Linked DNA regions of Homo sapiens: regions 2, 3, 4, 5, 6 and 7 are each linked to region 1. The links are contacts of gene promoters, found by promoter capture Hi-C in blood cells and fetal thymus (Javierre and others, 2016). All regions are on one chromosome and are shown on one strand. Each heading gives the region's core, a stretch centred on a gene start or on the middle of the fragment in contact. The rest is flanking DNA. Distances are from core to core; before and after follow the strand shown.

What was found. Contacts are between HindIII fragments. The CHiCAGO score rates a contact against its expected background, and 5 or more counts as called.
Region 2: a fragment that was not itself captured here is called in contact with the fragment with the promoter of SLAMF6 in region 1 in 1 of 17 cell types (non-activated CD4 T cells); the score reaches 6.2 in non-activated CD4 T cells.
Region 3: a fragment that was not itself captured here is called in contact with the fragment with the promoter of SLAMF6 in region 1 in 1 of 17 cell types (naive CD8 T cells); the score reaches 5.7 in naive CD8 T cells.
Region 4: a contact is called between a fragment that was not itself captured here and the fragment with the promoter of SLAMF6 in region 1, in 1 of 17 cell types (activated CD4 T cells). The highest score is 5.1, in activated CD4 T cells.
Region 5: a contact is called between a fragment that was not itself captured here and the fragment with the promoter of SLAMF6 in region 1, in 3 of 17 cell types (non-activated CD4 T cells, activated CD4 T cells and total CD8 T cells). The highest score is 6.7, in non-activated CD4 T cells.
Region 6: a contact is called between a fragment that was not itself captured here and the fragment with the promoter of SLAMF6 in region 1, in 2 of 17 cell types (total CD8 T cells and naive B cells). The highest score is 6.0, in total CD8 T cells.
Region 7: a fragment that was not itself captured here is called in contact with the fragment with the promoter of SLAMF6 in region 1 in 5 of 17 cell types (non-activated CD4 T cells, activated CD4 T cells, fetal thymus and 2 more); the score reaches 7.7 in non-activated CD4 T cells.

The regions. Positions count from the first base shown.
Region 1 is chr1:160,520,811-160,525,189 of GRCh38, reverse strand. SLAMF6 (SLAM family member 6) reads left to right here and starts at 1,935. Exons shown (of 8, transcript NM_001184714.2): 1 at 1,935-2,046. The coding sequence starts at 1,998. RefSeq lists an enhancer at 2,101-2,150. The HindIII fragment of the contact is 3,138 bases long and covers 1-2,306 here.
Region 2 is chr1:160,772,003-160,776,381 of GRCh38, reverse strand. LOC105371470 (a long non-coding RNA gene) reads left to right here. Exons shown (of 3, transcript NR_188636.1): 2 at 1-63; 3 at 168-3,672. Among named protein-coding and RNA genes, the nearest start is that of LY9, 22 kb to the left of the region's middle. The HindIII fragment of the contact is 3,707 bases long and covers 151-3,857 here.
Region 3 is chr1:160,755,230-160,759,608 of GRCh38, reverse strand. No RefSeq gene overlaps it. Among named protein-coding and RNA genes, the nearest start is that of SLAMF7, 18 kb to the right of the region's middle. RefSeq lists a silencer at 2,448-2,517 and an enhancer at 4,068-4,117. The HindIII fragment of the contact is 1,098 bases long and covers 2,019-3,116 here.
Region 4 is chr1:160,713,839-160,718,217 of GRCh38, reverse strand. No RefSeq gene overlaps it. Among named protein-coding and RNA genes, the nearest start is that of CD48, 4.2 kb to the right of the region's middle. The HindIII fragment of the contact is 5,074 bases long and covers 1-4,379 here.
Region 5 is chr1:160,683,758-160,688,136 of GRCh38, reverse strand. CD48 (CD48 molecule) reads left to right here. Exons shown (of 4, transcript NM_001778.4): 2 at 2,948-3,250. LOC124904439 (endogenous retrovirus group K member 18 Env polyprotein) reads right to left here. Exons shown (of 1, transcript XM_047438433.1): 1 at 1-4,379. Among named protein-coding and RNA genes, the nearest start is that of CD48, 26 kb to the left of the region's middle. The HindIII fragment of the contact is 715 bases long and covers 2,772-3,486 here.
Region 6 is chr1:160,373,641-160,378,019 of GRCh38, reverse strand. LOC105371466 (a long non-coding RNA gene) reads left to right here. Exons shown (of 4, transcript XR_007066686.1): 4 at 1-605. Among named protein-coding and RNA genes, the nearest start is that of NHLH1, 8.8 kb to the right of the region's middle. RefSeq lists an enhancer at 1,809-1,858. The HindIII fragment of the contact is 2,331 bases long and covers 594-2,924 here.
Region 7 is chr1:160,663,886-160,668,264 of GRCh38, reverse strand. No RefSeq gene overlaps it. Among named protein-coding and RNA genes, the nearest start is that of SLAMF1, 19 kb to the right of the region's middle. RefSeq lists enhancers at 2,210-2,771, 2,785-2,844. The HindIII fragment of the contact is 529 bases long and covers 2,301-2,829 here.

The DNA of each region.
Region 1 (4,379 bases), core at 686-3,185:
CAGAATTAGAAAAAACTACTTTAAATTTCATACAGAACCAAAAACGAGCCCATATAGCCAAGACAATTGTAAGCCAAAAGAACAAAGCTGGAGGCAGCACGCTAACTGACTTCAAACTATACTACAAGGCTGCAGTAACCAAAACAGCATGGTACTGGTACCAAAACAGATATATAGACCAATGGAGCAGAACAGAGGCCTCAGAAATAACATCACACATCTACAACCATCTGATCTTTGACAAACCTAACAAAAACAAGCAATGGGGAAAGGATTCCCTATTTAATAAATGGTGTTGGGAAAACTGGCTAGCAATTATGCAGAAAACTGAAACTGGTTCCCTTCCTTATACCTTACACAAAAATTAACTCAAGATGGATTAAAGACTTAAATGTTAGACCTAAAACCACAAAAACCCCAGAAGAAAACCTAGGCAATACCATTCAGGACAAAGGCATGGGCAAAGACTTCAATACTAAAACATCAAAATCAATGGCAACAAAAGCCAAAATTGACAAATGGGACCTAATTAAACTAAAGAGCTTCTGCACAGCAAAAGAAACTATCATCAGAGTGAACAGGGAACCTACAGAATGGGAGAAAATTTTTGCAGTCTATCCATTTGACAAAAGGCTAATATCCAGAATCTACAAAGAACTCAAACAAATTTACAAGAAAAAAAAAAAAACCCCAACAAAAAGTGGGCAAAGGATATGAAGACACTTCTCAAAAGAAGACATTTATGCGGCCAAGAAACATATGAAAAAAGCTCATCATCACTGGTCATTAGAGAAATGCAAATCAAAACTACAATGAGATACCATCTCATGCCAGTTAGAATGGCAATCATTAAAAAATCAGGAAACAACAGATGCTGGAGAGGATGTAGAGAAATGGGAATGTTTTCACACTGTTGGTGGGAGTGTAAACTAGTTCAACCATTGTGGAATACAGTGTGGCGATTCCTCAAGGATCTAGAACTAGAAATACCATTTGACCCAGCAATCCCATTACTGGTTATATACCCAAAGGATTATAAATCATGCTGCTATAAAGACACATGCACACTTATGTTTATTGCAGCACTGTTCACAATAGCAAAGACTTGGAACCAACCCAAATGCCCATCAATGATACACTGGATAAAGAAAATGTGGCATATATATACCATGGAATACCATGCAGCCATAAAAAAGGATGAGTTCATGTCCTTTGCAGGGACATGGATGAAGCTGGAAACCATCATTCTCAGCAAACTAACACAAGAACAGAAAGCCAAACAACGCATGTTCTCACTCATAGGTGGGAACTGAACAATGAGAACACATGGACACAGGTAGGGGAACATCATACACTGGGGTATGTCACGGGGTGGGGGGCAAGGGGAGGGATAGCATTAGGAGAAATATCTAATGTAGATGACAAGTTAATAGGTGCAGCACACCAACATGGCATATGTATACATATGTAACAAACCTGCACATTGTGCACATGTACCCTAGAACTTAAAGTATAATTTTAAAAAATCAGTTTTCTTTTGGCTTTTTCTTAGCTTTATACTTAAATATTTTTTTCTAATGTAATTAGAGTGGAATTGTTTTTTGAATTTTATTTTTGGATTACTCATAGCTAGTATATACAATTGCAATTGAATTTTATATTTTGATTTTGTATCTTTTCACCTTGCTGAACTCATTTATTTGTTCTAGTAGATTTTAGGAAATTCCTTACAGACTTTTACATATAAGTTTATGAAAGATGCAATAAAGGACTTTATCTTCTTTTCCAAAAAAAAAAAAAATTTGTGCACTTAGCTCAGAAAAAAGTAAACAAAAAATTAACACAGTTACAAATTAGGATTTTTAGTGCAGGGGAAGAAGTTGTCACCACGCCTCTAAGAGGAAGGGGAAGTCTCAGAAGTATTTTCAGTTTATGACAGAAGGGCAAAAACATTGACTGCCTCAAGGTCTCAAGCACCAGTCTTCACCGCGGAAAGCATGTTGTGGCTGTTCCAATCGCTCCTGTTTGTCTTCTGCTTTGGCCCAGGTAAATGTCAATCCAGATCGGTGTAGTCACTGAGTGACTCCCTGGTTTTGTGCAGCTTGCTCAACCTAAATCGTCTGTATACAGTTGTCTGGCTCTCTGCCAAGGGATTGGGGCGGGAAAGGGGACGCTGGCAGTGTTACCTGATATACTACTACCTCCTCTCAACTTTGGATGCGATAAGCCTGAGATGGTTGTCGGTGAACAATTTCAATTGTGTCTGCATGTAAGAAAGTTATTTGCTGGGGCAGAGGAAATAAGCTTTTGAAGACAAGACTGTTTGTGGTTTATGACCAGCATCTTGTGTTATAAAGAGTACCAAGACCAAGAAAATGGGCCCTCATACCAATGTATCTACTATCGTACTGTGAACCTCAGGGAGGTTACTTATCCTTCCTGAACCTCACTATCCTCATCTAAATTATTAAAAACCTATTATTCAGTTGAGCCAAATTTTCTGGGCCCAACCAAACACACCAAAAATAACCCTCTCACCTTTTGCTCATTGCAAAAAAAAAGGTTTCCATCTCTCCCCTCCTTTAGTGCAAATTAGGGCTAGCTAGTCCAGCAATGCATTATATATGGCAGTGAGAAAAGAATGAACTGATCCAGCTGGCTTCTTGTTTCCTGCTGTCCATTATATGGAGAAGATGAAGATTCATATCACATTTGGGGAACTACAAGTGGTCCACGGGAGACAAAGTGTAGCATTCAGGCAGAGATAGTCCAGGAGACCAATGGAAATCTAGTCCAGAGCTAGCCCAGGGTAGCAGATAAAAGTAGGAAGCATTCACTGAGCACTTATTGTATTTCAAGTATTGTGCCAGGTGCTGTACACACGTTATGAGTCTCATGAGAATTCTATGAATTTATACTATTAATATCTCCATTTTAAAATGAAGAACTGAGGTGAACTTAATTTAAATAATTTGCCCAAATTTCATTAGCCAGCATGCGACAAGCTCTTGTAATAGTTATGAGAAAAAATAACAGTTCAACAAGTGTGGCAGCAGCATAAGAGAAAGAAGAGACTGAAGCAAGAGATCCCATCAATATGGAGTTAAGTAGAGTAATTGGTAATTGGAATGAGAAAGGAATAAATATTCATTGAGCACCTACTGAATGCTTGGCACTCTTCTAGTTTGCATGAATACATCATGAACAAAGCAAGCAAAAATTCCTGCCCTCATGGAGTTAACATTTTAGCAGGAGACAAACTGTAAAAAAAGATAAACAAGTAAAATAGTGTATTGGGTAGGAAGAAATAAATCAAGAAGGAAAGGGAGAGATGAAATATGGTAAAGACGGCAGTGAAATTTCAGACAGGATAGCCAAAGAAAGTGACAAAATTGGAAGGTGGAGAGCAGCCACAGGAGGAAGGTGAGTTCAATTTTGGACCTACTGATTTTAGGATGTCAGTGTGCTATACATGAGGAAGTTACGTGGAGGATCCTGGGAACTTAGGACTAGGGGTAGAGCTGAGGCTAGAGACTTAAAAATCAATGGCATAGAGATATGTTAAGCTGAGGAGAAAACTGGAATGAGAACAGAACTTTGGGAAATATATATAAAATGCAGAAAGAGAGAGAATTCTTTCCTTCATTCAAGAGCCACTTCCTGATCTAGGAGCAGAATCTTGAGTTTTTGCTTCATTTTTACCACCCTGCAAAATTATTTCCACCTCTAGAATAAAATATTCTGAATGTCCTTGTGTTAAAACTCCTCTTCTTCTCCCTATTTCCATGAATACTTCTTATAATGACCCTATGAAATATACAGTGCTCCAATCTCCACTTCACAGATGGGGAAAGAAGGCACAGAACACTAAAGTAACTTGCTCACTGCCCCACATTTATGGGGGAAATGGGTATAGAAAGAGAAACACATTTGAATGAGTTTACAGGAGGCAGATGCAGGTGTTCTGAGACCCAGGAGGAGAGAAGTGGCTGCTAGAATTGGAAATCAGGAAGCTTGGCTCCGGAGTCTGTGCTCATAGCCACTTCACTATGCTACTTAGCTTACACACAGTCATACATTCACACAAATGTGTACATAATTAGAAAATGTGAGGCCAGCAAAAAAAATAAGCAGGGCACCTTCATAGAGAAAAACACGGGGACCTGCTTTGGACGGAGTGATGAAGAAAGGACTTCCTGGAAAAGTAACATCTCATCTGATATTTAAAGGGTGTGAAAAGTTAAACAGGAAAAGTCAAATGAAGAAGATTTTAGGGCAGAGGGAATCATGTGTGAAAAGCCGTGATGCAGGAAAGAGCCTGGAGTGATTTAGGAAGGGAAAGAAGACCACTGTTGCAAAAATGTGGGGCAAATGAAATT
Region 2 (4,379 bases), core at 755-3,254, 250 kb before region 1:
CCTGGGTAACTCTGCATACTTCCTCAATCATTATCACCAGGGATTTCACCCTGCTTGTCTATGGTAAGGAGGGCTGGAGGGCCCCACATTTGAAACTGAGCTTTCCTCTACCCTGTTTGGCCAGACCAGAGCCTTCTCATAGCTCAAGCTTTCCCTTCTTGGTTCAGAGATGCTGTAGGAGTTGAACATCTTTGCCAGCTCCCAGATCATGAAGGATGGGACCTGCTTCATCACCCTGGCCTGCTCCCTGGAACAGGCTGGAGAGAATGTGCAGAACAGCTGGGAGCCTCCTAGTCATGGGGCAGTTGTGTCCCATGGGGGGACCACTCTCAGTGTCCCCTGGATATCTGGGGAAAGTGAGAGCTATCACTGCACTGCCAGGAATCCCACCAGCCAGAGCTCCAGCTCTGTCCTTACCAGACCCCTTTGCTCAGGTAATGTTTTTCCTTCTCTGACTCTCTTCTTCCTGGCAAGCCTTGGTCTAGTTTCTTAGCATCCCTGCCTCTCTTCCTCTTGGATCCAGGAGCAATTGAAGAAAGGGAGGAGCCAGATTAGTTGGCAGCAGGAAGTGTCTCTGGGGTGGCAGGAGACAAGGGCTCTGGAGCCACCATCCCAGGGCCCGCTTCGGTCCACCTTTTCTCTGTTGGCCTCGGTCCTCTGTGCCTGACCTGCTGCAGACTCAGCGAGGCATTCAGCTCATTCCTGGGACTCCCTGAGGAAAAGTGCTGCCTCACCCACACTCAACCCTGCACAGCCCACTGAGGAGAGCTTCGAAACCCCTTGCCTGTGTTCTCAGAGAGGACTTACCACCTCCCCTTGCCTAGAGGTGCTCTGAGAGACACTTGAGGCTGTGCTCTTCTGGCAGGCAAGGGGAGGCCTCTCATGGTGTCCCTGGTCCCATTTGGCTTAGTCATAGGTCATGGCTGGAAACTGTGTTAGTTCAAACATATCCTGTCTCTCCTCTTCTCAGTTGCCTTCTGAAACAGCTGTCTTTCCTGACTCCAGATCTTCAATCATTCATTCTCCACCCACTTGCTGCTGATTTGCCCCTCCAGCTACATCCTGATGGATAAATTCATTGGCCACTTTTAAATTCTGTTATCCTTGGCTTCTCCCAGCACTTGACACATTAACCTGCTCTCCTTTGTCACCTGGGCTGCTCTCTCCTGGGACATCTTCCCTTGGATCAGGATCCTTCTCAAGACTGGTGCCTCAGGCCTTTCTCCACTCCCCTTGTTTTCTTTCTGTTGCCAAAGGCAGAAATGCCAGTGTCATTTAGGGCCCCTCCTCTTCCCCACCACATCCTGCCATTGCTCACCCTTTCCCTTTATTCCTTGCCTGGACCACTCCACAAACTCCTAACCACTCCTTCCTTCCTTAATCTTTTCCTTCCCAATCATCTTCCAGATTGCACTGCCAGAGGTCTAATTCTAAATTAAGAAATGCTTGTGTTACTTTTTAGCTTAAAACTTTAGGACATGAGAGGGAATGTGGAAGTGTTGATTAAACGGTAATAGTTTCAGACAGACAGGAGGAATAGGTTTTGAGATCTATTGCACAGAAGGCGACCATGGTCAATAATAATGTATTATACAGTTCAAAATAGCTGAGGGAGTACATTTCAAATGTCTCACCGTAAAAAATGGTAGGTGAGTGAAGATATGTTAATTAATTTGATTTAATCATGCCACATTGTATACATGATCAAAAATCACATTGTTCACCGTAAATGCATGCTGCTGTGATTTGTCAATCAAAAATAGTAAATATTTTAAAAACTAAAAAAAAGCCCTATGATGTCTGCCCACTATCTAAGGTATTTAAACAATTATTCATTCATTTAAGCCACAGGTATTTACTGAGTATCTTTTATGAACCCTGTGCTGTTCTAACCATTGTAGATACAATGAAGAAGAGGTCCAGATAAATTTCTACCCCTCATGTAAATCACTGTTACAATCATCACAACCTGCACCTGACTAGCTTTTTGGCCATTTCATCTTCCAGTCAGCCCTGGGAAATGACTTTGGGAGAGTTCTGTATTTTGTTGTACAAAGACAACATTGAATGTGTTCTATTATGGGCTTTTTGTGTCTGTGCTCTCCACTGAACTGTGAGAAAAACACATTCTTACTGTTCTCTGCATCTCTAATACACAACGAGTAATAGGTGTCAAAAAATGTGGGTCTGACAAGTATTTAAAAAGCATCTGCGCTGGGTGTTGTGGGACACATGCAGACATGATAATTGGCTGTAGACGTTCACAGTCTCCCTCTCTCTACGGGGCCTGATGGACATTTCAGTTCCGCCCCCACATTCGGCTACCTGAAGGGGCCTCCAGCCCAGCCATGCCTCTGACTTGTCTTCCTTCAAAATCATTTTCCCTGTTTCTCTGTCTTCCTGTCTTCCTTTTCTCCCAATTACTAACTTGTGGTCATTGTTCATTCAGCCTCCTTTGTACCCCACTCCCTGAGGAAAGAATTTCTTCCTTTTTTGATTCTGGGAGTTTTGGGGATTGAATAGATTTCACCTGGACATGGGGAGAAACCAAGAAGAGAAGTACGAGATGGCGGCCATCCTGTGAGACACAGAGTTAAAGAAGTTCGCATGTGGAGTGCTGCCTGAGGCCAGCATTTCCTGGTGTGAGAGAAGGACATTGACACTGATTAAGGCATAAACCCTATTTCATTTACAAACTGAGTTCAAAATTATCAGGAAACTGCTATGTGTCTTCTGTTTAAAATAATCTGTTTATGTTTTATTGAAGTGTGTTTTTAAGTGTTCAGAAAGAAAAAGGAGCTTATTTATTTAAGAAAAATTGAATGGAACATAAAAACATTGTTATTGTCACACATATATATTATTAAGTTTTTGTTAATGTTTAAATAACTAGATTCAGCCCAGCTTCAGCTTGAATGTCATCTCCTTGGAGCAGCCTTTGGCCACTATACTTAAGTAGATCTTTCCTCTCATTCATAATCAATGTATGTTTAAAAAAATAATCTGGAGTCTGTTAGGCTGAGACGGCCCTAGCAATCTGGGATTCTACACAAGCAAACAGAAAACCAACTCAGAATGACTTAACCAGTCGGAAACCACCAGGTAATCTCTAAATGGGGAATTCCATTTAAGCCATCAAATATTTTCTTTTCTTCTTTTTATTTTGCATAGAGACAGGATCTAACTCTGTTGCTCAGGCTGGTCTCAAACTCCTGGCCTCAAGTGATCTTCTCACCTTGGCCTCCCAAAGTGCGGAGATTACAGGCATAGACCACCATGCCTGGCACACTTATTTGTTGGTTTACTTATTTATTGTTTATTTCCCTCACAAGATATTCAGCTCTATGAGGATAAGAACTATTTCTATATATATTTTTTCAAAACTAAAAACCCAAAGGGTAATAGTGTTTGGCTTATGATAGATACTTCAACATTTACTGAATGAATGAAAGAATGAATTGGAGTTGAGAATATTTTTTCTTAAGATTTGAAGACTATTAGGAGGTTTTACAAGGATCTGGGGCCTACACCATTGTCTGTTTTCTCTTTCTGCTTTTGATGGAGAGAAGCAGCAAATTAAATCTTTATCCTAAAAGTTTCCTAGAATGCTCAACAGTTAGCAAAAGAAAAAGTTAAAATAAAAGAAACATTTATGTTTTGTTTTGACAGAAAGCTGCTCTGCAGTGCTAGATACGTTAATCTAGAATTTGAACCATATACAAATAACTGAACCAAAAGCAAAATTTAGGTGGGAAACTTTGAGCTTCTCTTTCTTTTTCTTACTCTCAGTTGATCAGCTCATTTCCTAGTTCATTCACAGAGAGGATTGGCAAATATCACCCATTACACACAAAGCTTCCAATCAAGTAGTTAATGACTTATTTGGAAATATAAGAGGGCAGACAGGATCACAAGATATTTGGGGAAGGCCTCTAACATGAAAGACAATCTCCAAACCAAATGAATCAGGGGGAAAAAAGAAACTTGGAAGAAAAGAGATAATACAGGGAGCAGGAGAAAATTAAATAAAATCCCTCAAACAATATTCTTAGAGACATATAAAAAGATTTTCACTTAAAAACAGAAACAGGGTGCCAGCCTAAGAAAAACTGAAAAGTCCAAGAGTAAGAAAGAGCCCTAGTAACAATAAATACATAAATAAAAAGCAGAAAACTTCTAAAATTCAATGGAAGTGTTGGAAAATCAAATGAAGAAACTCTCTCAGAAAGTAGAACTAAAGACAAACAGATGAAAATAAAAGAGAAAAGATAAGGCCATTAAAGAATCAGCCCAGGAACTCCAACCCCTGGATAACACAGTTCCAGAAAGGGACATGTCTTAGTCTATTTTGTGCTGCCATGGCAGAATCCCACAGATCG
Region 3 (4,379 bases), core at 1,318-3,817, 230 kb before region 1:
AGAAATAAGGACTGTAATTGTCATGGATATTTCCTCCTTATTTTGTTATGAATACAATTATGTGTATGTATGTTAGGCAAATATATTTGCTTTCTTTCCTGTCATCTTTTCTTATCATGTAACACAAGATGTATTAAATTTATATCAGTATTTAAGTATTGTTAATTTTACGTCATAATATTTAAGTTACAGCTATCAGGAGAAGAGTAAATATTACTCAAAGACTTTACCTCTTCTTCTGGGGAAGAGGCTAGTGTGTTTTCAGTTGCATGCAAGATTGTTGTATCATGCTAGATTGAATTATGGCCTTGTTATTCTCTTTATTTGGAGATTAAGTATGAGTTTTAGGAGATTGGTATGGGTGCCAAATTGACAAGGGGTGGACTCGTGATGATGAATTTCATGTGTCAACTTGACTGGGTTAAGGGATGCTCAGATAATTGGTAAAATATTATTTCTGGGTGTGTCTATGATGATGTTTCCAGAAGAGATTTATTTTTGAATCAGTAGACTGAGTAAAGATCACCCTTACCAATGTGGGTGAGCACCACCCAATCAGTTGAGGGCCTAAATAGAACAAAAAAGGCAGAGGAAGGCCAGATGCAGTGGTGCACACTTGTAATCCCAGCCACTTGGGAGGCTGAGGCAGGAGGATCACCTGAGCTCAGGAGTTTGAGGCCAGCCTGGGCAACATACAACTCCATGTCAAACAAAACAAAACAAAAAGGTAAAACAAACAAACAAACAAACAAAAAAAACCCCCAAAAAAACAAAAACAGAGAAAGAGCAAATTTGGTCTCTCTGCTTGAGCTGAGACATGCATTTTTCTTCTGCCCTTGGGCACTGGTAGTCTCATTTCTCTGGCTTTCTGGGTCATATTGAGAGTTACACCTTTGGCTCCCCAATTCTCAGGCCTTCCAAGTCATGAACTGAATTACTCCTCAGGCTTTCTTGGTTCTCCAGCCGCAGACAGAAGATCATGAGACCTCTTGGCCTTCCTAATGCGTGAGCCAATTCCTATAATAAGTCTCCTTTTATATATATTTACAAATAATCTATTGGTTCTATTTCTCAGGAAAACCATGAGTAATACAACCCCCTATATGTCTTATATGCCTTTATTTTCTTACCTACCATTTTAACTTGTAATGTCTGTTGATATCCCTGTCTCCCACTTGATTGTGAGCTCTTAGAAGTATGGGGAGCACATTGTAGACGCATAATAAGTTTTAATTGCAGGAAAAAATAACTTTTATAATTAGTAAAGACAAGCAGTACCAGCATTTATTTTAAAATAATAAATTTTAAATAAATTAATCAATTAATTAATACTGCCTAGAGCAGTAATACATATGAGCCGAACAAAACAAAACAAAACAAAACAAAACAAAACAACCCACAAAACCCAATTAGACAAAAGACAATCTTGGTCTCAACTACCTCATCTATAAAATGGTTATGTTTGTTATGAAGATTAAATAAATGTACATATGTATATACATGCACACATATATATATGTATTATTTAGAACAATGATTGGCAATTGTGACTGTACTAAACATTAAATATTATAAATGATCATGTTATGGTTTATCAACTCTTCCCTGTTGCTGGCTATGTTCTTGACAGATTGCAATAAAGAGTATGCTTAGGACTATAGTCAGAACTCCAAACATCTTTAAAGTCTGTCTACAAGTACATGAACTGAGGAGGCTGGAAGTTCCTCCTTCCATCTTCTTGGGATGAAATGAGAGGGAGGTGGGCCGGGCTGCATCCTGGGCTGCAGTCTGTGATAGGCTGTCCCCACCAGGAGGGTCTTGCTCATGGGTCTCCTCATGGAGGAGGATGATCCCCATGGGCCTGGATCCTCCTCATGGGCCTGGATATCTCTGAACATATGATGAACATTGCTTATGAAAAATTATTTGTAGGAAAATTGTGAGGCCTAAGAATGTTATTTTCTTTTAGTGATGGTCTTTGTTTGCTTCTGTAAGGTACTTGTGGGCACTCGTAAGCTTGGATCTCTTTAATCTAATACCAGTTTTGAGATTTTCTTGGCCCCATAGATGAATTAAAACTGGTGTACTTCTTGTTTACAAGAAGGATAAGTCTCCTAGGGTAAGTCTTTTGGGGTCCCAAGTCAAAAAGATGAGGGATTTACCAGTTCTCTAACCTTGGTAGCCCCAGACTCCAAACTTTGTCCTTCTAGTCCCAAGAGGCTATCAAAAGCAAAGGCCCATCTTCCCACCTCCTTTTCCAGATCAGCACACATTCCCAAGACAGTACTGAAAGCAGGAACCTCCTTATCCCTTAGATACCTCTTGAGAGCATCCTTCCCTCTCTCTGCATCCTACTATGCTTGTCCAACCTACCATCACCTCTCTCCTGGATAACGGTAAGAGCCTTCTGACTCAGTTTGCCTACATCCAGTCTTGACCCCCTACAATCTGTTTCCCATACTGCAACTAATGAAATTTTAAAAGTGCAACTCTCTCTGCTGGCCACACTGACTTTCGTTCTTTTAGGTCCTCTCACCACAAGGCCTTTGCACCTCTGGCTAGAAGGGTTTTATTTTCCCTTCCCACTTCTTGTAAGTAGCTCCTACTCATCTTCCGATCTCAGCTCAGTCTTCATCACTTTGGAGATACTGTCTCTGACCACAGGAAAATTTGCCATTCTTGGCTCCACACACCTCTCTTTCATAGCAGTCATCACTGCAACCATGTTATTTAAAGGATATTTGAGTGTTGGCCTCTGTCATTAGAATGTAAGCACCCTGAGGGCAGAGACCTCTGTTGTGGCCCACTGCTGTATTCCCTGAGTTCAGCATAATGTCCAGCACTTACTGGTGCTCAATAAGTACTGCTGAATGAATAAATGAATGAATGCATACATGATCAAATGAATGAGTGAAAGCCTTACTGAAATGGTACAGATACCTTCTTTACTTTCCACCAAGGTTTCAATGTTTACGAATTTGTTATTTGCACCTCACAAGTTGCAAACCACACAGTTCTGGAGGCTGCATGTAATGGGGCTATGAGGTGGTGTGACTTCTCACCCTGAAGAGCTGGTGGTTTCCTTTGCCTACTGGTTGAACTCATGAGGGGAAGCTTCTTTCTGCAACTAGCTTTGGGACAGAATTTATTGAGTGTCCAGAGACCAGATCTATTGGTCTCCCTAGGTCCTGTTTCAGTCACTGGTTTAAAAAACCCCAAAGTATGATTAACCCTAATTATTTATCATCTGAATGGGTTCTGAGGAGAGAGGGGAAGGCAGAACAGATGCATCCTCAGTCCCAGCATCCCCCTCTCCACGCCTCTGTCTTCACACACTGTGAAGCTCCCCTCAGCCTCCAGCAGCCCTCTCTGAGGGAAAGTCATCTTCTCCTCTGTCATTATGTGGAGGGTTTCTCCTTTCTCCCCACCCATTCTCACTCGAGGAGGTCTTTCCATCCTCCCCCACACCCTTACCATGAGGGTCTCAGACTTTCCCCTCAACCCCACGTAGTGAGTAGTGCCTCGTTTTTCTCACTGAGCACCTATTTAAAATTTCCTCTACTCTATTATGCAATACATACTTTCTCATTGAGGAATATTCAGAAAATGAATGAAAATAGGAAAAAACCAAGCCACCTAAGCTTTCACCCTCCCTAAACAACTGGTGTTACTATTTTGATGTTTTTTCTTCCAAATTTTTCCCTGTAGAGATTTTTTCTAAAACACAGCTGTAATCATATAGCACATTAAATTTGCATTCTACTTTTTATATTTGTGATGTCATAACATTTTCTAACTTGAAAACCCATAGTTGTTGTGTTGTTGTTGTTTTGTGAGTCAGAGTCTCACTCTGTTGCCCAGGCTGGAGTGCAGTAGCACAATTATAGCTCACTGCAGCCTCAACCTACCAGGCTCAAGCGACCCTCCCTCTTCAGCTCCTTCCTGAGTAGCTGGGACTACAGGCATGCACCACCATGCCTGGCTAATTTTTGTATTTTTTTGTAGAGATGGGGCTTTGCTAAGTTGCCTAGGGTGGTCTTGAACTCCTGAGGTCAAGTGATCCTCCTACTTCAGCCTCCCAAAGTGCTGGGATTACCGACATGAGCCACCACTCCTGGCCAACCCATAGTTTTTTTTAAACAATTTTTTTTTTTTTTTGAGACAGAATCTCACTCTATCATCCAGGCTGGAGTGCAGTGGTGCGATCTCGGCTCACTGCAACCTCCACCTCCCGGGTTCAAGAGATCCTCCTGCCTCAGCCTCCCAAGTAGCTGGGACCACAGGCACATGCTAAAAATTTGTTATTTTTAATTTTATTTTTGATTCAGAAGCTACATGTGTAGGTTACACAGGTATATTTCATGATGCTGAGTATAACC
Region 4 (4,379 bases), core at 1,095-3,594, 190 kb before region 1:
GTAAAAACTCACAAATGGCAAAGGAAGAATTTTCCCTCCTCCCAAAGGGGTGCTAACTCAAAAAAATCACATAGGCAGGGTTCTTAAAGGACCACAGAATGAGGTCCTACGCAGGTGGACAAACTGCTTCAGAAGGCACCAGAAAATTTGGCCCTGGGACATAATGGGGATAAAAAGCATATGATAAGTCATAAGGAATTGGCAGAGCTGAGGTTCCCATTAGTATCTGTCCTGGCAATGTGCTAGCAGACAGGGAAAGGGTTGGAGGTCATCTGAGCTGGTAGGGTAAGAACAAATGTAAATCTCAAGGGATATCCAGAAGGGAGCCCATGTCTTTGCTGCTACACAAACACAGCAAGAGCCATGGGCCACAGCAAGAGCCACGGGCACAAGAGCAACTGGGAGTGTGTGCCTAAGAAGTTACATGGCATGAAAAATGAAAACAGAGAAAAGGCAAATTGCCCCCGAGGTGGACGGTTCAGTGGGTGCGCAAGGCCATTTCAGAATACATCCAGAGAAAGCAGGAGAATAGGCATCGCAGGTTTTGGGGAAAGAGCCAATTTTAGTTGAAAAAGCAGAGGAAACCCCAGAAATTGCACAGTCTCAGGCTTTAGCCCTATCACTCTTGCAAGCCTCCTGTCCAGGACGGCAGAGAGGAATTGTTTTAGGGGTTGGTTAGTAAGCAGGAGAGCAAAAGGGAGAAGAAAACCACATATGTGGGTTGAATGACTCCAGCCAAAGAAGGCGAGGTGTAGAGATCTCTAACAACCAGAGAACAAATCTGAGTCATGGAACCAAAGTACGTTAGTGTCCCTTCTCCCTGATTCTTTCCTTGGGGTGGGCTGTCTGCATGCGCAGTGGCCTGCTAGTACTTGGGAGGGGCCACACATTCAGTGTGTTCACTGGAGTTGTATGCATGCTCACCTGAGGCGTTCTTCTTCTCTTCTTTCTTTTTTCTTTGAGACAGAGTCTCTCTCTGTTGCCCAGGCTGGAGTGCAGTGGCATGATCTTGGCTCACTGCAACCTCTGCCTCCTGGGTTCAAGTGATTCTGATGCTTCAGCCTCTTGAATAGCTGGGATTACAAGTGCTCACCATCACGTCTGGCTAGTTTTTGTATTTTTAGCAGAGACGGGGTTTCACCATGTTGGTCAGGCTAGTCTGAAACTCCTGTTCTTAAGCAATCCATCTGCCTTGGCCTCCCGAAGTGTTGGGATTGTAGGCATGAGCCACCATGCCCTGGTGCTGGCTGCGACCAATTATTATTTTAGAGAGGCACATTAACAATTGTCTGACCATCACCTGATGGTCGCCTGTCATTGCTGGTGGTGTGGGAGGCTCTCTCCTGCCCTGCTCACGTCTGCCTGACTACCTACTGTAACATTAGCCACCTGTTCTCATCAATTCTATCTTCTGGGAGATCGACCCTGTTCCTATCTTTGCTCTCATTGTTTCTGGGGAAAATTTATTGGAATGACTTCACTTTCTCTCACTCTCCAGGCACTAGCAAAGCTGTGCCTGTTGTGGCATTCAAGGCCCTGCTTAACCTACCAGGGGTCTGTCTTCCATCCTCAGCTCAATACCATACCCCTCCTTGAACATTTTTGGGCTACTCAAGGCCCTATATTCTCTGAGTTCCTAATTTCACATTGGCATGACTCTCATAGTGTTTCCTATGTGTTCTCCATTTCTTGTAGGCATATTGCAGATCCCCTGATGCCCAGAACCTTGATAACCCCAGAGTCTGTGTGCATAGTAGTTAGGCATGCCAGCTGGAGCATCAGACAGACGTAGATTTGAATTTTGATTCTGGTTCTAATTAGCAAAATGCCCTTGGGCAAGCCATTTGACTTGTCTGAACCTCAGTTATCTCTTCCGTAAAATAAGAATAGTGTTTATAAATATCCTCATGTGAATGTTGGAGGATTATTATTTTGTTGTTTTGTTGTTGTTTTTGTTTTTGAAACCTGATCCTTCTGTAAAATGTTGGAGGATTAAATGAGATAATATAGGCAAAGGTCCTGGCAAGTACTTGACTTAGTAGATACACAGAAAATAATAGCTTCTGTCATTACTATCACTTTGTCAAAGTCAAGCAGTAGGTCAAGTGCCCACCAGATTAGATACTGAGAAGAGTGTGTATTTTAATTCACATCATGAGGATTGTTGACCTGTACTTCATCTTCTAGGGTCTTTGCAGCCCCACCTCTGGGTATGCCCAAACTTCAGGGATTTCTGCAACCAGGGCTTTGGTGCAAGAACAGCTGATTCACTTAGGGCAGGGAGAGGGCTTTTGAGCCTTTATTGGTCACTTCTCTCAGACTTGTTTTTGAATCTATGCAGAAGCCTAACTAGCTAGTCCTGAACCTCAGAATGGGCACCCATAGTACTTCAGTGCCCGCTGTTACCATGCAAAAGGAGGAAGATTCCTTGGCTTAAGTTTATATTTCATCCTTTGTTTTAACATCAGCCTATATCCCATGGCTATTAATTCACATCTAAGCAGACTGTTGAGAATTATAGAGCTGTTTACTTGTCAATCTAAAAGAAAGAGGCTGAAACACAAAATATGATTTGAAGACTTTACTTGAGCCAAAGGGAGGACAGCTGCCTGGAAGACTCAGACCCAAGTAAAATTGGTTTTGAGCTCTGCTCAGCCTTTGTTACAAGCAGGTTTTTAAAGGCAAAAAAAGTGATACAAAGTTTTTTTTTTGGAATTCTCATTGGTTTGCAGAAATAACATTAATTAGTGATTGGTTACATATTGTTAAGCTGTAAGGTGTGGGTTATATGTCCAGTGCAGCATTATTAGATTAATTTATGGTTACTTGCAGCAATAGCAAGTAGTTTTAAGAGGTGAATACATAGCCCAAAGGTGGAGTAGGGGGAAGTAAAATGTGATTTCTGTCTCATTTAAATGTCTCTCTGATAATTTGAAGGACTCACATTCTTCAGATAAAAGTTCTTTCCTTTCTTCAACTTTTCACAACAACATTCAAAGGAGGTATTTTAACATTTATTTTTATTTTTACTTTTAGTAGAGATGGGGTTTTGCCATGTTGCCCAGGCTGCTCTCAAACTCCTGAGCTCAGGCAATCTGCCCTCCTCGGCCTCCCAAAGTGATAGCGACAGGAGACAGACAAATTCCTGGACAGATAGAAAAGGGTCCCTGGTGAAACTAGACTTTCAAGACAAAGACAGTTTAAAGCCTGAAAACTGGGCTGCCAGTTCTGGGTAGAGTCCACAACCAGAGTGAGAACTTCCTTGATACCTTTTAGCTAATCGAATGGTGCTTTTTCCAGGCCTGCCTATGGACAAATCTGAGCCGATGAAAACCCCAGACTCAGCCTCACAGAGGGCTACCTGTTTTGGGGCCCCTCTCACACAGTGGTCTACCCACTGTCTGGTCCCCTCTTTGCTGAGAGCTTTCCTTCTGTCACTCAATAAAATTATTCTCTGACCTACTCACTCTCCTTTGTCTGCATGCTTTATTCCTCTTGGTTGCAGGACAAGAACCCAGGACCTGCTGAGCTGCAGGTGGCAGGAACAAGCTGTAACATACCCGTATTTGCTGAGCTGTGGGCACTGGGACCAAGTGAGAGCTGTGACACACCCCCATTCACTGAACTGCAGGCAGCAAGACTAAATAAGAGCTGTGACATGCCCCCATTTGCTGAGCTGCAGGCAGTGGGACTGAACAAGAGCTGTGAGGTGCCCTCATTTGCTGAGCTGCAGGTGGCAGGAACAAGCTGTAACATACCCGTATTTGCTGAGCTGTGGGCACTGGGACCAAGTGAGAGCTGTGACACACCCCCATTCACTGAACTGCAGGCAGCAAGACTAAATAAGAGCTGTGACATGCCCCCATTTGCTGAGCTGCAGGCAGTGGGACTGAACAAGAGCTGTGAGGTGCCCTCATTTGCTGAGCTGCAGGTGGCAGGAACGAGAGAGAGAGCTGTAACATTTCTTGGGGTCTCAGGCCTTGGGATTCCCCAAGCAAAGCTGTAACACCCCTTAGGGCTCCGCAGTTGCTGGCATCTCCGAGTTTCTTAGTGCCACTGTGTTCCCTTCATTTAGACACTGGTGCCCAAGGTGGAAGCAGGTCACAGCACTCCCCGTCCTGCCACTGACTGAGTGTGGATCCTATGGCTCAGGAGTTCAAGACTGGCCTGGGCAACATGGTGAGACCTCATCTCTACAAAAAATTTTAAAAAAATAGCCATGCATAGTGGTCACTGTACTCCAGACTGGGTGACAGAGTGGGAGCCTGTGCCCCCCTCCCCCCAAAAAAGAGAATGTAACATTAATTTACAGGGTCTCTTTTAAAAATCTAATACAATGTTATCTTTTCTTGCTGAAGGAGCAGGGTCGTATCCTAAGG
Region 5 (4,379 bases), core at 1,880-4,379, 160 kb before region 1:
CAACAAGGCATCCATCAAAAATTGGCAAGTCAAATTAATGATTTAAGACAGTCTGTTATTTGGCTTGGAGATCAGGTAGTGAGTCTCAAACATCACATGCAAATGCAGTGCGATTGGAATACTTCAGATTTCTGCATCACCCCGTATTCCTATAATGAGACTGATCATTCATAGGAAATGGTCAAAGGACACCTTCTAGGTAGAGAAGATAATTTATCATTGGACATAACTAAATTAAAGAAACAAATTTTTGAAGCCTCTCAAGCTCACTTATCCATCATGCCTGGAGCTGAGGCATTAGATCAGGTGGCAGAAAATCTTTATGGATTAAACCCCACTACTTGGATTAAGTCTACTGGGGGCTCCACTGTAGTAAATTTTGGAATATGTTTCTGTGTTTAATCAGCTTGTTTTTAGTGTCCCAGACCACTCAAAGAATCCTGTGTCAAAATCAAGAGAATGAACAAGCCTTCATTGCCATGGCACATTTATATAAAAAGAAAGGGAGAGATGTTGCAGGAAGTCAGGGACCCCAAATGGAGGGACCGGCTGAAGCCATGGCAGAAGAACGTGGATTGTGAATATTTTATGGACATTTATTAGTTCCCCAAATTAATACTTTCATAATTTCTTATGCCTGTCTTTACTGCAATCTCTAAACATAAATTGTAAAGATTTCATGGACACTTATCACTTCCCCAGTCAATACCCTTGTGATTTCCTATGCCTGTCTTTACTTTAATCTCTTAATCCTGTCAGCCAAGGAGGATGTATGTCACCTCAGGACCATGTGATAATTGCATTAACTGCACAAATTATAGAACACGTGTGTTTAAACAATATGAAATCTGGGCACCTTGAAAAAAGAACAAGATAACAGCAATGTTTAGGAAACTAGAGAGATAACCTTAAACTCTGACCACCGGTGAGCCAGGCAGAACAGAGCCATATTTCTCTTCTTTCAAAAGCAAATGGGAGAAATATCGCTGAGTTCTTTTTCTCAGCATGGAACATCCCTGAGAAAGAGAATACGCGCCTGGAGGTATAGGCTTATAAACAGCACCCCCAGGTGCTCCTGTCTCTTATGGTCGAAACTGCAGAGGTGAAATAGACTCCAGTCTCCCATAGCACTCCCAGGCTTATTAGGAAGAGAAAACTCCTGCCTAATAAATTTTGGTCAGACTGGTTGATCTCAAAACCCTGTCTCCTGATAAGATGTTATCAATGACAATGGTGCCCGAAACTTCATTAGCAATTTTAATTTCACCTCGGTCCTGTGGTCCTGTGATCTCGCCCTGCCTCCTCTTGCCTTATGGTATTCTAATACCCCGTTAAGTACTTGATGTCTGTCACCCACACCTATTTGCACACTCCCTCCCCTTTTGAAAATCTCTAATAAAAACTTGCTGGTTTTTGTAGCTTGTGGGGCATCACGGAACCTACCGACATGTGATGTCTCCCCCAGATGCTCAGCTTTAAAATTTCTCTCTTTTGTACTCTGTCCCTTTATTTCTCAAGCTGGCCAATGCTTAGGAAAAATAGAAAAGAACCTATGTGAATATCAGGGCAGATTCCCCGATAGCTGCTTAGTTCATTGATGTATCCCAAGTGTCTCAAATAGTGCCTGACAGATAGTTCTTAACAAATATTAGCTTTTAATCACCCTTTGGCTTACCCTAGTGGTCATCTCCTCCAAAGAGATTTTTCTTAGTATTTTCTCCATTTTCTATCCCTACCCTCCGGATAGGAATATATTCCCATAGCACACTGTGTTTATTGTCAGGAGTCAGGAAATGATGCCCTAAAATGATGGCCTCAGAAGCAGCCTCAGAAGTGAAAGTTTTTCTCTGACCTTCTCCTGCCCTCCTGTCTATCAGTCCCATTCTCCCCTAGGCTAGCCATAGACACTGGAATCCCTCTTTCCCAAGGTGGGCCATAGAAGCCAAAACCCCTTTTCCCCAAAGCCAGCCATAAAATTTAAATATACCACCCTAACTTTCCTTGAGCCTTTCTCTGTAAAAAAAAAATAGCTATAAAGAAATTATCTGACCTATCTTGTTTGATTGTGAATCATAAGACCCCCATTCTAGAGAGGGCCTGACCCACACACGGGAGGAAGGAAAGAATCTGGCACAGAAAGGCCAAGCAGAATCTAGAAAGATAGGCCTTGCTGGGTTTCCCGCAGTCAGTCTATTGGCATTCAATCATACCCTTTTTGTCCAATCATATTTCTCCATGACTGTCCATACTTTGTTGAACCTAAGCATAAAAATGGACAATTTGCCCTGTATCTTTGGCTCTTCATTAGGAAGGCTCTGCTTACACGTTAAATTGATCTGTATGCCTTTCCTCCTTAATCTGCCTCTTGTCAGTGATTTTTGGCAAACCTTCAGAAGGTGAAGGGGAAGCTTTCCCTTGGTCCCCACGTTACCTTTATTATAGTCATCAAGATAATATATTAGGATTATTTGTTTGTGTGTTTGTCCTCCCACATTGGTATATTAAATATTTTTAAACAGAATCATGTACTTTTTATGTCTATGCCTCTAGGGACTAACAACATGCTTACTGAAATGAGAATAGACAGGAAACACAAGACCAGAGCAGAGATATGACTTGTCATCAGTTTATTTGAAAGTCTACTGGTATGAGAGTAAGGGAGAGAGCCAGGCCCAACCTCAGTTGGCCTTACTCAATTCTTTCATTTTCTGGGGACAGTACTAGATTAATTATAAGCAGCATCCCCTTCCCCCATGCCCACTTTTCAAGCTTCAACTTTTCTTGAGTTCCTAAGCAGGAGACCTGGACCTCCAGTGAAAACCATACTCACTGCTCCTAAGCAGAAATCCCTTCCTTCTCACCTGTTCCACCAGCCCAGGCTATACCCTGGGCCTGTCAGCAACACTGCCTCCTCTAGCGCAGGTCTCACTCTGAATCTCATTGGCAGGTCACTTGGTACATATGACCGTGGTCTCCGGCAGCAACGTGACTCTGAACATCTCTGAGAGCCTGCCTGAGAACTACAAACAACTAACCTGGTTTTATACTTTCGACCAGAAGATTGTAGAATGGGATTCCAGAAAATCTAAGTACTTTGAATCCAAATTTAAAGGCAGGGTCAGACTTGATCCTCAGAGTGGCGCACTGTACATCTCTAAGGTCCAGAAAGAGGACAACAGCACCTACATCATGAGGGTGTTGAAAAAGACTGGGAATGAGCAAGAATGGAAGATCAAGCTGCAAGTGCTTGGTGAGTCAGGGGAGCCAAAGAGCAAATCCCCACTCCAGTGGCCCCAGATGGACCACTGTAGGGCTTCCTGGGAGGCATGGGGCACTCTCGGGGAGGAGGAGAGAAAAACCTCAGGACAGGTTTGATTCATTTTTCCTTGATCCAATTCTATTTGGGAGTGAGCCTAGGTCAACAGATATCCAAATTAACAATCTTAGGACATTTAACACCTCTTCTGAAGTTAGTGAGTCTAAGCTTTGAAGAGAAGGAAAACTAGAGATTTTTCCTATTTCCTTCATTTTGTCCTGTGATCAACCTAAATCAGCTCAGCTCATCTTGATTATATCTCCGAAATTAGGCTTCATTGGACTTAAGAAAAAAGAGAATGTATTAATATAAAGAATGGGGCAGGAGTTATCAGGAGAATTTTTCAACTTTCATAATGGGCAGGACAAAAAAACTTCCACTCATAGCTCCAGTCTAACCAGTGTATATGGAATAAGGACTCAGGCATTATACCTGGAGCCAGACAGACTTGGGTTCAAAACTGGTCAGTTGCTCACTAGCTGTGCAGCCTTGAAAAAAGATCTTCACATCTCTGTGCCCATATTAGGTAAGATTCTTTTGATAGCAAATAACAGAAACTAATTCAATGTACCTTTACCAAAAAAGGAGAATTTAGTTTAAGAAACTAGGGCTATTTAAAGCAATTCAAAGAGTTTAAAAGAGCTAGGAAGGGCTTAAGGGGAGAAGATTGAAAACCAGGTTCGGGCCAGAACCCCTAGCTTCAGGAATCTGTGGACTGTGCCTATGGATTTGGATTCCTGCCATTTTACACATGTTATCTCTCAAAACTTAGACTTTTGCTCCTCTGAGTTTCAATTCTCAGGGCAATTTAAAGAGAGAGAAACTGATAGTCCCAATTTAGTTCAGGTGTGTGTACCTGATCTAAACATTTTTGGTGAAAGGATCAGATTATAGGGCAGAAACATGGATATGGGGAGGGGCTCCAGGGGTTGGGGTATGCAATTCTTGTAGAAGAGCGGGGCTAAATAATCCAAGAGTGGTGTTCCCTTGAGAGCCTTGGGTTCTTCATCATATTATGAGAATAATTCTACTTACCTTTCAGGATGTTATTAGAGTCAAAGTA
Region 6 (4,379 bases), core at 510-3,009, 150 kb after region 1:
TATACAGGAGAGTGCCAGCAGGAGAGTTCTTGAGAACACCTGTGAGGTGTGAGGGAAGCTGCAATAAGCCGAGAGAGAAACTGAAAAGCAATGCAATGGCAACAGAGGCTTCTGTCCATCCCATGGGGGCTCTCAAGCTGGGATAACTTTGTAACCCCACATCAACCAGTCATTGCCCTAGGGAAAGAGCAACACCTCAGGCAAGGCGGCTTTCTTCCTCCAAAGGCAATTCCTGGAGAGGGACTCAGCTGTGAGTCAACACTTCCACAGCTGGAGAAGTGAGTGGAGCACACCACAGAATTCACTGTACGTATCTCATGGTCTTCAAAACCCAGCTCAGAGTTTACCGGCTGCCTTCCTCACCAACACCCTCTCTCAGGTAATCACTCGCTTCCTTGCAGATGCCTCTCACTGTTGGGAAACTGATATGTTTACATGCCTGTCTCCCATACTCCCTCCCAAGTAGGTGGTGGGGAGGGCCTGATCCTGTATTTCAGAATCCAGAACAGTGCCCGGTATACATTGGCTATTCCATAAAGGCATGCTGCACTGAATAAATTGAAATCAACCAATGAAAGAGGTAGCTACAAGCTTATAAAAGAAGGAGGCTGGAGTTTAATGCTAGAAAGGATAAAAGGGACATAGACAGTAGAGATTCTCACTTGGGAACCACACTGGAGACCCTGCTTGGGAGGCCCAAGAGTCCCAGGTTAGAGCGAATCAAGGCTCTGAGCTTGGGATGTCCAAAGAGGGGCAGGAGCCAGAACAAAACCTGTAACCTATAAATAGCCATAGGTTATAGCTCATGGAGCTGGGAGACAAAGGTAAAACTTCAAGGGGAGAACGGGCTTCTAGGAAAGAGGAAATTCGACAGCTCCCTCTCCTTGCTCCATACCTGCCAGCTGTCACTCAGACTCCTATATTAAAAAGAGCACACACACAAAAAAGTACACAGATATACACGTGTTCAAAAACCACAGAATCAGGTAAGCACGCCCAGATACAGAACACACACATAACACAGACACACAATACATGAAACAGACACAGACCAGAAAAAAATCAATCTGAAAATTATAGGCCATAATATATGTAAATGAACCACCTATGAATTCTAAACTCTGTTTACCCCTAGTCAGCCTTCAAGCCTCCTTCACCTTCCAGAAATCTCTGACAAGTAGAGAATTCCAGATTGCAGAATTGCAATTCCTTCGTCCTTTGTCCCCAGTCAGGTCATTTCTTCTCTTTTTCAGGCTCTCAGCAGCTCCTAGCTAGGGATAGGGAAGAGGGAAAATGTTTCTGCTAGTAGCCAGCAGGGGACAGTGTTCAACAAGCAATAATCAAATCAGCCTTCAACTTGCTGAAGGGAGGGAATGGAGGACGAGGGAACCAGAAAAGGGTCCTCAGACCAACACATTGCTCTGATCACACCCTCGATCCATGTCTCCCTCTTTTTTTTCTGCTTCTTCAGCCCCCTTCTTCTCCTCAGCTGCAGTTTCTCCATCCTTAGTTTAGTAGATCTCATGGATTGTCTATTTGCTCAGAGAAGACTAAGCTCAGGAATTTCCCCCTCAGGGAGAGACATTCCCCTTAGCCTCTTGTCCCTTTCCATTCTGTCTTGGTTCCCAAGGTGGTCAGGACTTCGGAGTTTTCATCTGGACTCCTGACCAATGCTCAGGAACCCACATGAGGGGCTCAGTTCCAGGGCCACCTCTCAGGGGATGCTTGCATCCTGGTGCACAGCTGGTCTAGTAGAAGTGGGGTTGGGTGTCAGGCCCCTGCACTGCCCTTAGCCTGGTGCTTTGTAAAGTGCACAAACTGTATGACAGTACAGTTGACCCTGCTACTTACTGCCCCTGAGATAGCATCTGATGAGCGTTTCCGGTGTTGAACACTTTCACGATGATCTCATTTAATCCTCATCACACCCCGGTGGGTCTTGTTGTCTTTCCTGCTTTCCATATGAAAAAGCTGTTGCTCAGGGAGGGCATGCGGTTTGCTCACTGTGGCACAAAGGGGAAAGGTGGAGACAGAGCAGGGACACGGGACCTCTGGCTGCCGGGTGTGGGCTTTCTCCCCTCTAGCACAGTGTTGCTGCACTGCCACCACTGCCTCCCTTCTTCCACTCCCTCTCAGCCTTTCAGGCTCATCTCTGCTTGCTCCCTTCTCCTCCCTGCGCTGACATCCCAGCACTGTGAGCCTCTTTCTTCTGCCCATAATCCTCATCCAATGAGAGGTCAAAAGCTCAGGAAAGAACACAAGAAGAAAGCAGAAAGATAAAGGAACTGGGTGGTAGAAAGGGCTTTCCAGAAAGAGGAAGAAGCAAAGGCAAAGAAGACAGGGCCTGCACTGGGGGTGGAGAGGGAAGGGAGGTGGGTGGAATGAGGAAGCGGAGCACCCTCCACACTGTGCCCAGACTTGGGAAAGGGCACAGACAGGGCCTCCATTGTGTGGGCACAAAGAGGCCATATGCCTGGCAGCCTATGACAGTGTGTGTGTGTGCGCGTGTGTGTGTGTGTGTGTGTGAGAGAGAGAGAGAGAGAGAGAGAGAGAGAGATTTTAGGCAACCCCCACCCAGCCCCTGGGGCCTTGACTTCTGCTCTGTCACTGGTGATGGGTTTGCTGAGTTACAGGACAGGGCGTTGATGAAGACAGGACTGGAGGGTCAGGCACCTGTGGTCACTAGGACTGGAAGAGGGCATGGACAGCTGGGGGAGCTATGGCCATGCATGGGATACTTGGCAAGGGGAGTAAGGAAGCAGGGGTGAAGTGCAAGAGTCCCATTCTGGGGTCCTCCTAACTGCCCCTCCCCCACCCCACCACCCACGAGTTGGGTTTAGAGGGATGTGGAATGAGGGATGCAGAGCAGATCCTCTTCTAACAATCCCTTTTCCCCATCCTCCCTATCTGCTAGCCCCAAAGCTTTCACTTTCCCCTCAGCCCAGGGACTTCCATCTCCCTGCCCTCTCCCTCCTCCCCCAGTGCCTGGTCCCCTGCTCCCTCCTCTTCCCACTCTCCACCTCCTTCTCCTGTCCTTCCCAGAGTGAGAAGAGCAACAAGAGCGACAGCGGCAGCGAGGCCAATTGATTATCTGAAGAAATTCGGAGCTAGCAGTAGAACAGCTGCAGCTTCCCCCTCTCACCACCTCCAGGCCCTCAGGGATCCCTGAGGGGAGGGGCCCCCTAAGCCCTTCTGCTCTCCAGCCCAGGCAAAGAGACAAGAGAGGGAGGCAGGGAGCCCAGAGGACTGTGGCTGCTGAGCACAGAGAAGCACAAAGCTCTCAGGGCCAGGAATGGAAGACTTGGCTTCTAATCCCAGGCCATCATCATGGGTGAGTCACGTCACCTGTCTGGACAGTAGTTTACCTGCCTTTGAAATAAAGTTGTTGGATTCAGTGATTTCTGTGTTCCCGTCCAACTCTGGCCCTTTGGAGTCCTGAAGTTCTCCCTGATCTCAGTTCAGCCTTCCCTTTTGCCAGGCTCTGGGCAGAGCACATGTCATTTAACTCACATGGGAAGGGGAAGATGTCAAGTCCTCCTGTATGGAAGCTCCTCCCTAGGTCTAACTCAAGCCCTTCATGCTGCTTATGTCATTCTTTGTTCATCAAAGATGAAAACCCATAGCTGGGCATGGTGATTCATGCCTGTAATCCCAGTATTTTAGGAGGCCAAGGCAGCAGGATCACTTCAGGCCAGGAGTTAGAGACCAGTCTGACCAACATGGCGAAAACCCATCTCTACTAAAAACACAAAAATTAGCCGGGCATGACAGCGGGCGCCTGTAGTCCCAGCTACTCAGGAGGCTGAACCACGAGAATGGCTTGAATGGGGAGGTGGATGTTGCAGTGGGCCAAGATCCCGCCACTGCACTCCAGCCTGGGCAATAGAGCAAGACTCTGTCTCAAAAAGATAAAAAGAAAAAAGAAAATATTTCAGGGACTGAAAGTTGTCTCTGCATTTCCCTCCTGCTGTTTGCCTTCAGCCTTCTCGTATGACCTTAAGTTTGGAGAGGATCTTCTAATGAACCTAGCCAGTGTTCCATCTGAGGCAGCAATGTGCTCTATGATTTCTCTGCGTGTGGTTGACTCTCCAGCTTCTCTATTTGGAGTTCTCCTCTTGAGGCAGTCAGTGCCATTGCTGGACAGCTCCAGGTGTTGCAAAATTTTTCTTCAAATTAAAATCTGCTTTCTTCTAACTTCTACTCACGGGTTTTGTTCGGCCTACTGGGGCCCCACAGAATATCCATTTTTGATTCTTCTTTCAATATTTAAAGATGGGTGTCATATTACCCCCAAGTCTACTCTTATCAAGACACATATCCTCAGTTTTTCAACTATTTCTTCTATAAAGTGGTCTCCAGACCTTTTGGTTTCTTCGCCA
Region 7 (4,379 bases), core at 1,316-3,815, 140 kb before region 1:
AACTATAAAAAGAAGAACTAAGTTCATTAAGAAACTATAAAAAGAAGAATAAACTAAGCTCAAAGCAAGCAAGAGGGAGAAAATAATAAAGATAAAAATGGAAAGAAATGAAGGAGAGAATACAAAAATAAGAGAAAAACAAATTTAAAGTTTGGTTATTTGAAAAGATCAGCAAAACTGACAAATGTTTAGGTAGACTGATAAAATGAAAAACGGAGAAGACTCAAAGGACCAAAATCAAGAATTAAAAGGGGATATTACTATTGACTTTAAAGGAATAAAAATGATTACAAGGGGGATAGTATGAACAATTGTATGGAAATAAATTAGACGAAATGGAAAAATTTCAAGAATCACACAGACTACCAAAACTGACTAGAGAAGACAGATGCGATAGATCAGATAGATAAAGGGAGGGTTCTTGCTTGCAATAGAATGCCAAATATGGAGTGAGGTGCTAAAGTGAAGAAAGTTATTATTTTGTAACTATCACAATTAAGACAGGCTCAGGCAAAAATTATCAATGGATGCTAAATCTCAGAGGAAATTTTGATGAGGAGTAAGATGTCTGCATGGCCTTCCACTGTATGCCAACACATAGTTATTAGTTAAAATCAAAAAAGATAACTATACAATAGAGAAATCTGGCAATCTGTTGGCAATATATTGGCCAGGTGATTAAAATTAACATTATCGATGAGAAGACATCAAGGGTCTCTAGATGTGATACCTTGAGGGTACAATGTCACTTGTGTAGTACCTAGTCTGGGAATGCATAATGTGAATCTAATCATAAGGAAATACCAAAAAACCCCAAGTGAGGAATTTGCTATTAAAAAAGAGAGGCTGTAATCCCAGGACTTTGGGAGGCTGAGGCAGGCGGATCATGAGGTCAGGAGTTTGAGACCAGCCTGACCAACATGGTGAAACCCCATCTCTACTAAAAATACAAATACAAAAAAATTAGCTGGGTGTGGTGGTGCATGCCAGCTACTCAGGAGGCTGAGGCAGAAGAATCGTTTGAACCCGGGAGGTGGAGATTGCAGTGAGCCGAGATTGTACCACTGCACTCCAGCCTGGGTGACAGAGCAAGACTCCACCTCAAGAAAAAAAAAAAAAAAGGGAAAGGGTGGGAAGACTGCATTCTTCAAATATATCCATGTCATAAAGGAGAAGATATAGCTGTGGAAATGTTACAGTTGAAGGGTACTAAAGAGATACAACAACTAAATGCAATACCTAATACTGGACTGGATCCTGACCTGGAGGGAAAATTATGGTTACAAAGGGTCAACCGACAAAATTGAAATGCAAACAGTAGGTTAGACAAGAATATTGTTATCAATGTAAAATTTACTTAAGTGATAACTATATTGTAGTTGTGTCAGAAATTATCCTAATTCTTTACACTGATGTATTTAAGATAAAGAGCCATGCCATATGCAACCTACCCTATAATAGTTCAAATAGAGACAGAAAGAGAGAGAGAGAGAGAACTAGCTAATATTAAAGCAAAATGGGCAAAACATTACAGAGAGGTATTCACAGTCACAGCCAACTTGTAGACCCCTCCCTGCAGGATATTTATAAGCGTGTTCTTTGTACTATTATTAATAATAATTTTTTCTTGCAGCTCTTTTGACATTATTTTCAAATAAAAAGTTAACTACACAGATTAATGAAAGGTCTGCAATACTTATTTCCCCTTGATGGTCCTTCAAGATGCTGAGGGTCTGTTCTGCATTTACCACATCCTCTTCTTTCCTTGTATAGGCCTCTCCTTTTATAGACCTGTGAGTTCTCAGAGTACATTATCATTTTCAACCTTGAATTCCCATTGAAACCCTTGAATTCCCATTGAATCATCTGCCAAAGACGACAGTTTATTTTTCTGTTGATCCAATCAAGAAAAGGAGAAAGCTTCCATGAATAATAAACAGATGGGGACTACAAGTTCCTGTGACTCTGCCGGGCTCTGCCCAATGTGTCTCTCCATTCTGGCTCCCAGGCTACAGGAGCACAGCCTCTGTCAGTCTTGCTATCTCTGGCAGAGGACAGCAACACAGAGCAGAAGGACCTCTTTAAAGCCTAGGTTTAATAATGACAACATTTTCATGCTTAAATCCTTCAAGGATAGGCTCGTTGGAGAGCCTACAGGGTTCTACTGATCCTTATGTGGCTTGGTTTCTGTGATTTTCTCCTGTCCAATTTCTAGTTTGGCCCCTCCTTTGCACTGAATGCTGCAACCTTCCTGAACTGCTAGCAGTTCCCCGAATTTACTCAATGCCTTTGCTCAAGCTTTTACACTTCCTGGAATCCCCTCCCACTCCTCGTTGACCTAACAAACTCCCACTCATTTGTTAAGACTCAAACCAATTGTTGCCTCTCCAAAGTCCAAGAACCACTTCTTAGGAATAGGACTCTCTCCCTGGTCCATAATCACCGTTTCCCACCCTCTTTGTGATAGGAATGATTACTACAAAGAAGACTTAGAAATCGTCAGCAGGGAAGCCCATAAAATTTGCATTTCCTAATTTTCTGTAATCTTGGTGGAGGACAGGAAGGAAGTGGCCAGGCCAAGGCCGTCTGGCAAGTTACCAGCAGGGCTGAGGCTGGAAGTCAAATACACATTCTCCTTTCTTTGTTGATACTACTGGGTACTCCCTGGGGCTTGACCCATTGCCCTTCTTATGTTCGAAAATGTCTTCTGGACTCTGTCAAACCCTAGACAACTCAATTTTGCAGGACCTTCTAGGGGGGCAATGTTGGAGGGCTTGTTGGCTCCTAGAGAGAGCACTGGAATGAGCATGTTTGGTTGGTCTTCAAGCTTATACCTAGTACCCAGAACCACATTTCAAGCTTCTGGGAGGTTGTGTGGTATAGGGGAAGGAGCATGACCTTTGGAGCCAGACAGCCTTGAGTTTGAGTTCCAGAACCGTCATTTACCAGCTTCTGAACCTCAGGAAAAGTAAACTTTCTAAACCTCGGTTTCCGTATGTGGATGATTTTTAAAATCAGGATTAAATGAGATAACCTCAATAAATCATTCCACATAAAGTCTGCCATACAGTAAGTGCTCAATAAGTATTAGTTGCCTTCCTCTGTCCCAAACTTCTCCTTCCTCTCTTCTGGGCTGGCAACTCTAATTTTAATGAATTAAGACAAGATCTCTTAGCTTAAGTTTCCCCAAGTGTAAAATAAGAGGGAAATGGTTGTATAACTCATATGACCCAGATCACGGCTTCTTTCTATTTTGCTTTTATCAATCTTCTCAATCAGGTCTGTGTACTGAGCACAAAGGCTGCCCATGGGTGTGACATGAACAACGGAGGTTTTGCTCTCAGAGGAAGTGGAGAGGGGTTGGGAGGTACCTGGGGAAATGCAAATTTCATGGCTAAGTAGGACTTCCCTAGGTCTGCTGACTTCCAAGATGCTTCTGAGGCATAATTCCAGTGATGATGTGAAGGTGTGGGGCCAGTTCTACCCCCACCAAAAAAGGCCACAATCAGTATATTCATTCCACAAACATTTTTAGCACTTGCTGTATGCCAGGCATTGTTAGATTGGGGAACCATGAAGGTAAATAGAGCATAATGAAACTCAATCAGGATATGGGTGGATTGACCTAAACCCAAGAGATTTGGTTTCTGGTTACGGCTTTTCAAAAACTAGCCATATGGTAAGTCCCTTAGAAGTTTTAGTCTCTAAGTATTAGCTTTCTTGGGGTGAAATGAAGGAGTTGAAAATATGACTTCTATATTTGTTTGCTTTCCTTCAGATTATACTTCTCCTCTCAAAGTCAGCTCTGTGTTTTCAAATAGCCCCTGGAAATCTCCATATGCATGAACCGTAAACATTTAAACTGACCATATCCCAAGCCAACAAATAATCTTATACCCCTTGCTCTCAATTTTGCCCCTAAGTTATCTCCACCTCTTATACTTCCTTTCTTAGAGAATGGCATTGCCATCTACTGGGAAACTGAACTGGAAGTGTAAAGGCCATAGTATATAGGCCACTCTCCTTCACAGCCCACATTCAATAAGTCACCAAACCCTGAAAAATCCACCTATGAGATAACTCTCCAATGGATCTCCTTCTCTCCCACCTCATTGCTACTTCTCCAGTTAAGACCCATCATTTCTTCAAATCTGTTCCTAGCCTGTAGGTCTACCTAAATTTCTCTCACACTAAGGCCAAAGTAATCTTTTCTTTTCTTTCTTTTTTTTTTTTTTTTTTTTTTTTTGACAGATTTTCACTCTTGTTGCCCCAGGCTGGAGTGCAATGGTGCAATCTTGGCTTACTGCAACCTCCGCCTCCCAGGTTCAAGTGATTCTCCCATCTCAGGCTCCCAAGTAGTGGGATTACAAGCACATGCT